Linked DNA regions of Homo sapiens: region 2 is linked to region 1. Evidence: promoter capture Hi-C in 16 types of primary human blood cells and fetal thymus (Javierre and others, 2016). All regions are on one chromosome and are shown on one strand. Each heading gives the region's core, a stretch centred on a gene start or on the middle of the fragment in contact. The rest is flanking DNA. Distances are from core to core; before and after follow the strand shown. Region 1 holds the start of CLEC4F (C-type lectin domain family 4 member F). Region 2 has its middle 29 kb from the start of FAM136A.

Region 1 (6,426 bases), core at 993-3,492:
ACAATCAATTTCACACCATTATACAATAATTAACTCAAATGAGGCAGAGACCTAAATGTAAAACTAAAAACCGGGCTGGGCATGGTGGCTCACGCCTGTAATCCCAGCACTTTGGGAGGCTGAGGTGGGCAGATCACGAGGTCAGGGGATCGAGACCATCCTGGCTAACACGGTGAAACTCCGTCTCTACTAAAAATACAAAAAATTAGCCAGGCGTGGTGGCGGGCGCCTGTAGTCCTAGCTACTCCAGAGGCTGAGGCAGGAGAATGGCATGAACCTGGGAGGCAGAGCTTGCAGTGAGCCGAGATCACGCCACTGCACTCCAGCCTGGGTGACAGAGCGAGACTCCGTCAAAAAACAAAAACAAAAACTAAAACTAAAAACTGTACAATTTCCAGAAACAAAGGAGAACATCTTTGTAGCCTTGGATTAGGCAGATTTCTCACATACGAGATCATGAGAATAATCCATAACAGAAATAAAATGATAAATTAGACTATCAAAATTAAAATCTTGTTAGGAGAATGACAAGACAAGTCACAGACTGAGAGAAAAATATTTGCAAATCACATGACTAGCAAAGAACAAAGAGTACATACTCTATGATCTCTTATCTATAAAACTCTAGAAAAAGCAAACTAATCTATAGTTACAGCAAGTAGATCTGTGGCTGCCCAGGGATGAGGAGAGGAAGGGAGAGGAAGGAATTACAAAGAGCCACAAGGAAACTTTGGGGTGAGGAGGATGACTATGTGATGATGATTGTGGTGATGGTTTCAGGGGCACACACATATGTCAAAACTTAACAGATTGTATGCTTTAAATATATACACCATTAGACCTCAATAAAACTGTGTTTTTAAAAAATTATCTCTTTCTGTGAGGATGGTGGAGCCCATTCAGTGGTCAGAGGGTACCAGGAGAGAAGCTCATCCTAGGGTCTGAGCATCTGAAGGCCCCAGTTCCCTCTGCACCCCACCCCCACTGTGGCTACTCACTGTTGGGTTCAAAAGGTAAATGCCCAGTAATGTTGTCTCCCAGAATTACGGCTTGCACAGGCTTCGGAACAGGTCTTGTCTGCTGTTGAACTGAGACATTCCATTTTTCCAGGTCAGCAAATCCCCAGCCCTGAGCCTGGGAGGATACGCTGTCCCACACAGAGGTAGAGTTCCAGAACCGGGGAGATAGCAGCAAAGACCCTCCCAGGGTTTCCCTCATGAACCTCAGTTCTTGGGAGGCTCCCCCTTGGACAGTGGCCTTTATCTGTTCCCAGGGAAGCTGTGGCTTGGGCCTGGAGCTGGAGGTGGAATGATCTTTCTGGGAGCAGAGAGGCCCAGAGAGTGTGCATCTGGGGCCCCTGGGGACTTTGTGCTGAAAGGAGAGAAAGTTAGTGAGATTTGGGTCACCTGGGGGCTTACCCACTACAAAGAGAGTCACAAGAGAGAAGACCAAGGTCACAGCCATAAATGCCGGGGTAGCCTGAACGAGCCTCGGTATCTTGGGGGCTGCAGGAGCCATTGCCACAGAGTCCACCTCTGCAGGGGAGAAGGCAGTGTCCAAGGTGAGAGGGTGCTGTGCAAGGTAAGAGGGTGCTGTGCAGGCTGAGACACAGCCTCTCTGATTCTGTTTCCTGGGTTGTCTAATGGGGATGATAACTCCTGCCATGCTTATCATGCAGGTGGTTATGGAGAAGGAAGACAAAACACTTTGGGCTGTTCACCAGAGCTAGATGTGGATATGGTAGCAACACAGAGCTGAGGAGCTCTGAGACCGAGACCACCGATCTCCAAATCTCAAGGAGGCTTTGGTGGTGCACAGGGCACAGAACCTGGCACAGAGCACAGAGCAACAAAAGTGTAGTTTGAATGAAAGAAGAAAGGAAGGGAGGGAGGCCTCACAGGACCAGCTCAGTGTGCAGAGCCGGGATTCCAAGCCAGGACCATCTGAATTCAAAGTTCATCCCCTTTCTCTTGCCAGGTCTGCATCCCCAAGGACAAGGGTCTGGGGAGAGCAATAAGACAGCAATAAGCTGCCTTATGGCAGAGGGCCAAAGGACAGGCAGGCTACTCCCTCACTGGGCAAGAGCTGGGGCCCCAGTTTTCTCACCTTGGGGGTGCAGGGAGACACACTGGTTATCTGTGCAGAAGCGGACTGCCTCACCGTCCATCTCTGCTTCCTTGATCCTCCAGCACTGCTCCCAGCCACTGGCTCCTGGAAGGGCCGTCCCGTGGACCAATGGCAGTGGAAGCAAAGCTGAGACACCCACACTTATATGCTCCTGACCACCCTCCCAGCTCTTCCTCCCTCCCTGCCTGACTCTGCAGAAACCCGCCCCAGTGGGCCCCTCCCCTAGAGGCTCCCAGATACCCATCTGCCCTATTTTCTTCCTCTTCCCATTAGCACCTTCCCGTCAGTTCTCAGCCCCATCATCCCAGCCTCTGCCGCATCCAGCATAACCCCAAACACACCTCTTCTTCTCTGGGGGCTGGGACTGGCACCTAGGAAGGGGGTCTCAGCTTTGCACAGAAAACATCCTTATGACTATGGCTGACCTTTAATTCTAGCCTCAGAACCTCTTAAGTAAAAGGAGTCAGGTAAAAGAGGGGCCAGGTCAGTGCGGCCGATATTTGCAGGTCAAAGGAGGAAGCGGGGTGACCAGCCACTTGGGGACTCACAACTGAATTATAGTATACAGGAGGATGTGCGGAGGTTATATAAAAATACTACATGATTTTGTACAAGGGACTTGAGCATCTGTGGACTTTGGTACCCATGGGAGTCCTGAAACAAATCCCCTGCAGATACCAAGGGACAACTCTGTAAAAAATATATCTGGTCTTCATCTCAGTTCCTGACACAGAACTCCTAAAACGCTTAGAGTTTCCTGGGTGACAGGAGTGTTTTTTGTTATTCATAATAAGCCCCTTAGGACTACACTTGGGTTTATGCTAATGAGGTGACACAGGGTGGACCCTTAGATAATTTCAGGCTGGAGGCTGGTCCCAGAAAGACCAAACATGGGATTAGACTTTGGAAGACTGGGACTTTCAGCCACCCACTCCCATTCCCTACTCCCAGACCTCCAGGTATGGGAGATGGCCTGGGGTCTGGGCTATAACGACTCTTAAAAAATGAGATTCAAGGAGCTTAGGGATTGGTGATCCACATGCCAGGAGGGTGTCATGCCCTGACTCCACAGAGACAGAGTCTCCTGCACTTGGGACCCCACTGGGCCTTGCCCTGTGTACCTCTTCATCAGGCTGTTTTTGTCCTTTACAATAAAAGAATAGGAAGTACAGTGTTTTTCTGAGTTCTGTGAATTGTTCTAGTGAATTATGAAAACTGAGAGGTTGTTGCAGAAACCCCCTAATTTTTTGTTTGAGACAGGGTCTCCCTCTGTCACTCAGGCTGGAGTGCAGTGGTACGATCATAAGTCAATGCAGCCTTGAACTCCTGGACACAAGTGATCCTCAGTTCTCAGCCCCAACATCCCAGCCTCTGTCACATCCAGCATAACCCCAGCATAACTGGGACTACAGGTGTGTGCCAACATACCTGGCTAATTTTTTATTTTTATTTTTTTGTAGAGATGGGATCTCTTTTTATACCCCAGGCTGGTCTGGAACTCCTGGCTTCAAGTGATCCTCCCACCTCAGCCTCCCAAAGTGCTGGGACTACAGGCATGAGCCACCTTGCCTAGCCAGAACCCCCAAATTTGTAGTTGACCAGGCAGAAGTGGGGTCACTACCTCACTTGTAGCTAGCATCTGAAGGGGGGCAGTCTTGTGGGACTGAGGCCTTACCCTGTGAGATCTGTGCTAACTCTGGAAGTTAGTGTTAGAATCTGTTTGAATTGTTGGATGCCCAGCGGGTGTCAGAGAATCGGCTGGTGTCAGGAAAAAGCACACATTTGGTGTCAGAAGTGGTGTCAGAAAATACCAAGCAGGCCCCAACTTTAGCTGATTGGATCCATGCCTCCTGAGGTGACCAGGTTCTCAAGACTAACTCCAAAGAATCTGATGGAGCAGGCTGGGGCCAATGTGTGGCTTTCAATGAGCCCTATCCCTTCCAGGAGGAACAGATACTGCTTCAGGGGTTCCTGCTGCTGGGTGGGCCTAGCATTAGAAGAGAAGGCATGAGGCATCCCAGTGGACAGTGCCATGGAGCTGTGCAAACGTGATGTCCCTGTCCCTGCCACAGGGGTTACCAGCTGAACAGAACCAATATTCCCATGGCTGGTCAAGGAACCCCTCTAAAAGCCAGTGCTGGGGTTACCAGCAGATTCCTGTTCTTTGGTTCCTTCTTGTCTCCATTACTTCAAACGGTCACAATCTTTTTGAAATAAATCACATTTTCTTTCACTTTGGAAAGTCTAATTACATATTACACCATCATAGCAACTCTTAAACAAACTCACAACCTTGCAAATGGCTTGTTCCATCCATGTTGTGTTGTTTCTTTGCTACTTTCACCCTCTGTTCCTATGTCCCATTCTCATGTCTTTTGCACAGATCCTGGGGTCAGCCTCTTATAGGTCCCCAGCTGCCAACTAACAACACTGCAGACCAACCACAAAGGTGGAGAAGCCACACGGAACGTGCCTCCTCTGAGGCCGGGCCAGGAGAACAGCTTTGGCCCAGGAGGAGCCTGTGCCATGCGTGGCTGATGTCAACCCGGCAAGCAAGTCGCCCCGTGGGTAGGGGATCTGCAGACAGGAAGGGAGCGGTTGCCCACACCCAGTTCATGATGGTGGGGGTGTGTGTGTTTGTGTGTGTGTGTGTGTGTGTTGAACTGTGCAGTGTTAGGGGCCCAATGTGTAGAGTGCAGAGCCACCATTTGCTGCCTTTTACCTCCTGTTTGTTGAAAACTGACCTTAGAGAGGAGGGCACAGCAGGAATGAAGGGTGAAGGCACCTATTTCTGGACTATCAACAGCGCTGCCTGAGATCCCAGTGGTGTCTGCCAGACTCCTTCACCGCCACATAGAATGGGATGGAAGCTGCTGGAGGTGCCTCCCTAGAGGCCCATCAGACACCCAGGGCTGGTGGCTGAAAAGAAAGGGCTTGTCTTGGTTTCTGTTTCCCCATACACAGGAAGGGCCCAGGCTGGACCTACTCAGGACCTATTTCCTCCTGAGGCCTGAGAGCTGAGGGAACCTCGAAGGCAGAACTCTACGGATCCCTTGCCCAACTGGAAGGTCAGAGTCTGGGCCAGGAGAGGGGCATAGTTCTTCCCTGGCCTCCCCACCCACCCTCCGGGCCCTAGCTCTTCTATTTCCCACAGGAACACCATCTACCAGCAGGGCAGAAAAACCAGGGGGTTGCTATGTCTTCACTGAGAGGCTTTCTGTTCTCTGGCCAGACAAAAACAAATGGGCATTAATACAAGAACTGGCCAGGCACGGTGGCTCATGCCTGCAATACCAGCACTTTGTGAGGCCGAGGCAGGTGGATCACTTGAGGCCAAGAGTTCAAGACCAGTCTGGCCAACATGATGAAACCCTTGTCTCTATTAAAAATACAAAAACTAACTGGGCATGGTGGCAGGTGACTGTAATCCCAGCTACTCGGGAGGCTGAGACAGGAGAATCATTTGAACCTGGGAGGCGGAGGTGGCAGTGAGCCGAGATTGTGCCACTGCACTCCAGCCTGGGTGACAGAGCAAGACTCCAAAAAAAAAAAAAGAAAGAAAGAAAGAAAGAAAGAGTCTACTTGGTGGGACTAAAGCCAAACCAGAGGGAGCCAGAGCCAGGAGAGGGAGAGAGGCGGATTCTTCTTTATGTTTTTTAATCCAGGACATTTTATTTAATAGTAGGGACAGCTTCTTGACATGATGTGAGCACTTGTATTCAGCAGTACAAAGTGTCCTGATTTTACACCCTACAAAATACAGCAACAACAATTCAACACATTTACAGGCCTGAATGCAAACCACCTGGCTTTTATTCCGTTCGTCTCCTAACTGTTCTCCCTGCCTCTCCTCTTACCCCCTCTCAAGTCCTGTCACCATGGTGCAAGCATAATGATCTTTTCAAAAAAAATTAGATGTACACACAAATATTACTTAGCTCTCTCAGCTGGGAGAGGCAATGATGTTCAAATAGCAACAGCCACACAGCCCCCAGGTTTTGATTTCTAACACCATTCTCCAAAAAAAGGAAACCAGGGCTCATTAGAGAAATGGCTGACTCTAGAACTGGGGCAGGAAATACTCAAGATGAGCCTGGAGCATCTTGTAGTACCAGAAAGTAAGGAGATGCTTAGTTACCAAAAAAAAAAAAAAAAAAAAAAAACTGAGGGAAGTATGTCAAAATGACACAGGAACCAATGAAGGAGCTCCCAATGGCCAAAGCCAGAGCAATTTGAGCAAAAACAAAACAAAAAAACAAATAAAATAGTATTGGATTATAACCCAAAGTGTAAGAGAAA
Region 2 (6,426 bases), core at 1,389-3,888, 490 kb before region 1:
TGGGAGGCCGAGGTGGTCGGATCATTTGAGGTCAGGAGTTTGACACCAGCCTGGCCAACATGGTGAAACCCCGTCTCTATTAAAAATACAAAAATTAGTCCGGGCACGGTGGCTCACGCCTGTAATCCCACCACTTTGGGAGGCCGAGGCGGGCGGATCACGAGGTCAGGAGATGGAGACCATCCTGGCTAACACGGTGAAACCCATCTCTACTAAAAATACAAAAAAATTAGCTGGGTGTGGTGGCAGGCGCCTGTAGTCCCAGCTACTCGGGAGGCTGAGGCAGGAGAATGGCGTGAACCCGGGAGGCGGAGCTTGCAGTGAGCCGAGATCGCGCCACTGCACTCTAGCCTGGGCGACAGAGCGAGACTCGGTCTCAAAAAATAAAAAATAAAAAATAAAAAAAATTAGCTAGGTGTGGTGGCGCATGCCTGTAGTCCCAGCTACTTGGGAGGCTGAGCCAGGAGAATCGCTTGAACCCGGGAGGCAGAGGTTGCAGTGAGCCAAGATCGCGCCATTGCCCTCCAGCCTGGGTGACATAGGCTCCATCTCAAAAAAAAAAAAAAGTGTCTTCTTTAGTTATATAAAATTTCTCTTGTTAGAACATCCATCCTAATTAATGAGAAAAAGAATGAGGACTGATAGTTCATATAATACTAAAGCTCACTCAACAAAACTTTGAAATTATTATTATTTTTAGTTAACTATCAGGTGCTTTATCCACAGATACTTAAGGCCTTATCACTGCCCAGAGACATTAGCTGGACCAAAGGGCAGCATGGGCAAGCTGGGCTGCTCAGCAGGGAGCAGGCGCTGTGGATTTCCGTTTTCATCCCGTCAGCTTGCTCCCTCTGTAATCACAGCTCTGCCCAGATTGTCTTAATGACAACCCTGCCTCACCTGGTTTCCGGAATGGATGCATTCCTTCCCACTTTGATCACAGAATGCTATTCTCATTCTCCAGGGTGTGGGCCCAGCCTGGCTCAGTGCCTGCTTGCCAAGGACCTGCCCTGAGTCACTCTGTCTTTGGTGCCGACAATCTGATTGCTACAGCTGGATATTTTTTCTTTCCTCTCCTTCAACTTGAAGAAAACACCCTCCTACTCACTCCCGCTGCCCTGCCCTGCCCATGGGAATCACTCTAGAGTTTAACAATGTTGTCTGTCCTCTGTCTGTAACTTTGGGAAAACAGGTGAGCTGGGAAGCAGCAGGTGAGCTGGAGTACAGAGTACAAAAGGGCACACTGGGGCTTTGGCTTCTGTTCTGATGGATTGCCAGGGTGTACAAAGCAGTTCTCATGGAAAAGGCATCATGGCAATTTGTTTACTGTGGTTAGTCTTGAGGATCTGCTGTTAATTTAGCCATATATGTGTACACACACACACACACATGCATGCAAATGTGTTAAGAACTATAAAGTTCTCTACAATCGTTATTTAAATATCAGAGACGCTCTTGGTTGAGCTTTTGTTTTTTTTAGAGACAGTCTTGTTCTGTTGCCCAGGCTAGAGTGCAGTGGTGTGATCATAGCTCACGGTAACCTTGAACTCCTGGGCTCAAGAGATCCTCCTGCTTCAGCTTCCTGAGCAGCTGTGACTACTGGCATGGGCCACTATGCCTGCCCAATTAAAACAAATTTTCTTTTGTGTAGATGCGGTCTCAATATGTTGCCCAGGCTGCTTTCAAATTCCCGGCCTCAAATGATCCTTCCACTTCAGCCTTCCAAAGTACTGCTATTATAGGCGTGAGCCACTGCCCTTGGCCTCCAGCCAGCTTTATAGAACATAACTACTGTGAATAATGAAGGTAAACTGTACTTTGCCTCACCCAAGATGGTGGGACCTGTAAAGATTCAAAAGTGCCGGCTGGGCGCGGTGGCTCACGCCTGTAATCCCAGCACTTTGGGAGGCCGAGGCGGGCGGATCACGAGGTCAGGAGATCGAGACCATCCTGGCTAACACGGTGAAACTCTGTGTCTACTAAAAATACAAAAAATAGCCGGGCGTGGTGGTGAGCGCCTGTAGTCCCATCTACTCGGGAGGCAGAGGCAGGAGAATGGCGTGAACCTGGGAGGCGGAGCTTGCAGTGATCCGAGATAGCGCCACTGCACTCCAGCCTGGTTGACAGAGCGAGACTCCGTCTCAAAAAGAAAAAAAAAAAAGAAGATTCAAAAGTGCCTAAGAAGGTTTGAGTGGGCATCTAGGCTCCTGGGGAACATCTGTGTTCCGGTGTTCCACAGCCTGAACCTCCAGCACTCTGTGAGCTCAGAGTGGGGCCCTCTCTCCTCTGCACCCCAGACACCAGCATTAAGTTACTGCTGCTCCTCCCAGCAACCCAGAGGTACCTCTGGAACTTTGTGGCTCAAGCTTGATGTTAGTGGATGTGTTTGATTCTAGGGGCGGGGAGAAGTCTGCAGGAACTTCTTCGGCGGCAGTGTAGAGACTGCTGCTTAGGGCCAGCCTGGGTGGGAACAGATGGGGCTGCTCACCTCCCAGCTGAAGCAAAAAAAAAAAAAAAAAAAAGCAGGGAGGAGACTGCCCCCTATTAGAGGAGAGAAACAGAATTCACAGCTGGAGACACTATTTGGGGGTTGCAAAGAGAGACTATACATTGGATTTGAACCATGAGGTTGGAAGCTGATGGGACTGGGAACAAGTTGGGCTGGAGCAGATGAAACAGGGAGATGTGAACAAAAGAACACCAAGGAGGGGAGCACCAGAGAGGAGCAAAACACATGTCACCCTGCCCATATCCCTCCAGTGGGGGACACAGATGCCAAATAGATAAGCAAAGTGTATCATTATAAATTGGGGGACGTATTATTCAGAAAAGGTAGAGGGCTGTGAAAGAGAATAACAGAGGGGCTTTAACTGAGATGGGGATGGGGGAAGCCAGGAGAGGCCCCAGAACCAAGCTTTGAATTGTGAAAGGATGTGAACCAGGCTGCAGGGGCGCCCAAAGCACATTAGGAGCAGAATGGCCCACCTGGGGTCACCAAGATGGACAGGGCTGGGTGCCTTCCAGGACTGAAAAAACCGTCTGCCTGAGGGGCAGAGAGGCCAGTGGGGTCGGGAGATGAGACCGGGAACAGAGGCAGGGCCAGACCATACCGGCCTGCAGGCTGCGTGAAGGAGCTTGGAGTTTATTCTAAATGCAACTGTGCTCTGGGTGCCTGTCCTCACGGTGTGACTTTTAGGACCACCAAATATATTTGATGGCATTGTTCTATGTTAGAGCAAACTTGCAGATTTTATAAACATTTGAAGGGAGATACACTGCCACGTTTGCAAAGTTGTTTTGAAGGTGGAAGTGGGTGAAACTGTGTTCCTCTTTCTACTTTTAAAATATTTTGCCTTATTTTCTTAACGACTGCATTACTTTGATAAATGTGAACATTATGGGAAAAAGAGCCCCCTGTGCTGATGGCTGAAGTCCCTGGGTCCCATGGGGTAGATTCTGGGCTAATGCTTTATGTTCATGAAGTTTTATAAAAATTGTGATTTTGATTGGGATTGCACTGAATTTATGGATAATATAATTTAAGAAAAAGAGGCTGGGGGCAGTGGCTCATGCCTGTAATCCCAGCACTTTGGGAGGCCGAGGTGGGGAGATCACTTGAGGTCAGATGTTTGAGCCCAGCCTGGCCAAGATGGTGAAACCCCATCTCTGCTAAAAACGCAAAAATTAGCCAGGCGAGGTGGTATGCACGTGTAATCTCAGCTACTTGAGAGGCTGAGGCATGAGAATCACTTGAACCCAGGAGGCAGAGGTTGCAGTGAGCTGAGATTGCGCCACTGCACTCCAGCCTGGACAACAGAGTGAGACTTTGTCTCAAAAAGAACATTTTTTTTAAGAAAAAGTGTTATCTTTATGATAAAAATTAGCCAAACATGGTGGCATGTGCATGTAGTCCCAGCTACCTGGCCGTCAGGGGTTGGTGCTGAGGTGGGAGGATTGCTTGAACCTGGGAGTTCAAGGCTGAAGTGAGCTATCATAGTACCTTTTATCAAGGTCACTCAGCCCTGACCCAGGTGATTTAGCTTGTGAGGTCACCCATCACTGACCCCCTAGTCCTGCCAGCTGAGGGCCCCACACCCAGAGCTGGGGACAGTTTCTATTTGCCTTCTGCCTAGTTTGACAGGATCAGCTTCCTGGGTTTTTTTTTTTTTTTTTTTTTTGAGGCCGAGTTTTGCTCTTTGTTGCCCAGGCTGTAGTGCAGTGGCACGATCTTGGCTCACTGCAACCCTGCCTCCTGGGTTCAAGTGATTTTCCTGCCTCAGCCTCCCCAGTAGCTGGGATTACAGGCACCCACCACCATGCTGGGATACTTTTTTGTATTTTCAGTAGAGACGGGGTTTTGCCATATTGGTCAGGCTGGTCTCGAACTCCTGACCTCAGGTGATCCACCCGCCTCAGCCTCCCAAAGTGCTGGGATTACAGGTGTGAACACCGCCCCTGGCCCATGGGTACTTCTTTCTGCAGAAAAGCCACCTGTTAACAGAGGGCAGAGCCTGAGTTCAGAGGAATGAGCTTTAATGGGGGTATTCATAGCAGCACCAAGTGTGGGATGGGTGGGGTGGGAGTGTGAAGGGAGGGAAGCGTAATCATTTGGGGTTGATAGTCTTCCTGGAGGGAGGAAAACAACGTGAAATGTAGGAGTGGGGGAATCATTTTAATAAGGTAAAGGTAGATTATGGGCTAATGGTTTGTGTTCGTGATTCTCGTGGCGCCCAGTGTCCCTTGCATGAGGCCCCTGGTCATCTGCCCTGCACCTAGGGAGACAGGTGTGGTACAGAGGCCTCAGCATCTCACTCTCCATAATTCTGTCTCTCTTCTTCACCTCAGGAGGTGTGCAGCTAGGACACGTTGTGCCTCCTCTTCTCATCTGAATTTTCAATGGGGCAAAGGGCAGTTGGAGAAGATTCCCTCCAGGGATGCTCCCACCTTTCTGGTGGGCATAGAAGGGTTTTCTCCACTTCAATGCCAGCCTTTCCCTGTTCCAGCAATGCTTCCTTGACTACAGGCTGGTCTAGAGGTTTACCTGTTATTCCTTTATCCCAGCTTCTTGCATTTTTGCATGTCATATGCACATTTCCTAACCATCCTCCATGTGAAGAGTTTGGTCTCCCTCATAGGCCATTGAGGGTTTGCAGCTGTCATCTGGTACAGGTGTAGCCTCTGGAGTGTGTGGGCAGGCTCTTGTAGAACTGTTTATGGGAGAACCTCCTTTCTGCTGATGGAGTCCTCATGCAGTCCTAGCTGACAGCCACCAGGATGTGGGGAAATGTCCAACTACGGGAGTCCAGAGATCCTGCTCAGGTTGGGGTGGCCATATTCAAATTTGTCTTGCATTCTGGCAAAGAGCTATTTCTCCTGGTGTTTCTCAATTCTGCTGGACTTGGTGCCCCCTTTTCAAACAAATATCTTATAGTTCCACCTTTACCTTAATGAAATGAAGTTATGGATAATATAACTCATGCAGAAATCAATATCATGTCCTATCATATAAAACATAAATATATAAAATAAACATATAAAACATATAAACAAACAAAAAACATATAAAATAAAATAAAAACAATTAATAATAAAATAGTATTGTCAGTATTGTCAATATTCACCGACCAGAGACTACCAGGAACATACCAGCAGTAAAAAAAGGTAGGTTATTTAGTTTGCTGCAGGGAGGGAGAACACACCCCAGATGATTCACAATAAAAGGGAGTTGGGAAGGGCTCTCTCTTTTTTTTCTGAGATGGGGTCTCACTTTGTCACCCAGGCTGGAGTACAGTAGCGCGATCTCTGCTCACTGCAGCCTCAACCTCCTGGGTTCAAGTGATCCTCCTGCTTCAGCCTCCCAAGTAGCTGGGACTATAGTTGAGTGCCAACATGCCCGACTAATTTTTGTATATTTTGTAGAGATGGGTTTCACCATGTTGTTCAGGCTGGTCTTGAACTCCTGATGTCAAGCAATCCGCCTGCCTTGGCCTCTCGAAGTGCTGGTATTACAGGTGTGAGCCATTGCACCCAGCCTTATTTTCCTTTTCAAGTGGTTACATTTATTATTTTTTCCCTTCTGTAGACTGAATGTTTGTGTCCCCGGAAATTCATATGTTGAAATGTAATCTACCAATGTGATGTTAGGAGGTGAGACCTTTGGGAGGTAATTAGGTCATGAGGGTAGATCCCTCATGAATGGGATTAGTGCCCTTGCGAAAGAGACCCTTGTCTCTTCCACCATGTGATGATACAGGGAGAAGATAGTCATTTATGAAATAGGAAGCAGGCCCTCACCAGACACTGGATCTATTGGCACCTGGATCTTGGAGTCTCTTGGACTTCCCACACTCTAGAACTGTGAGAAATACTGTTTATAAGTTACCCAAATTACGGTATTTTGTTATAGCAGTCAGAACAGACTAAGAC

What was found. Contacts are between HindIII fragments. The CHiCAGO score rates a contact against its expected background, and 5 or more counts as called.
Region 2: a contact is called between a fragment that was not itself captured here and the fragment with the promoter of CLEC4F in region 1, in 1 of 17 cell types (M2 macrophages). The highest score is 6.4, in M2 macrophages.

What each region holds. Positions count from the first base shown.
Region 1 is chr2:70,818,357-70,824,782 of GRCh38, forward strand. CLEC4F (C-type lectin domain family 4 member F) reads right to left here and starts at 2,243. Exons shown (of 7, transcript NM_173535.3): 1 at 2,107-2,243; 2 at 1,419-1,535; 3 at 999-1,088. The coding sequence starts at 2,167. It also overlaps a transcript of CD207 not described here. The HindIII fragment of the contact is 10,753 bases long and covers 1-6,426 here.
Region 2 is chr2:70,328,186-70,334,611 of GRCh38, forward strand. No RefSeq gene overlaps it. Among named protein-coding and RNA genes, the nearest start is that of FAM136A, 29 kb to the left of the region's middle. RefSeq lists a silencer at 1,632-1,926. The HindIII fragment of the contact is 548 bases long and covers 2,365-2,912 here.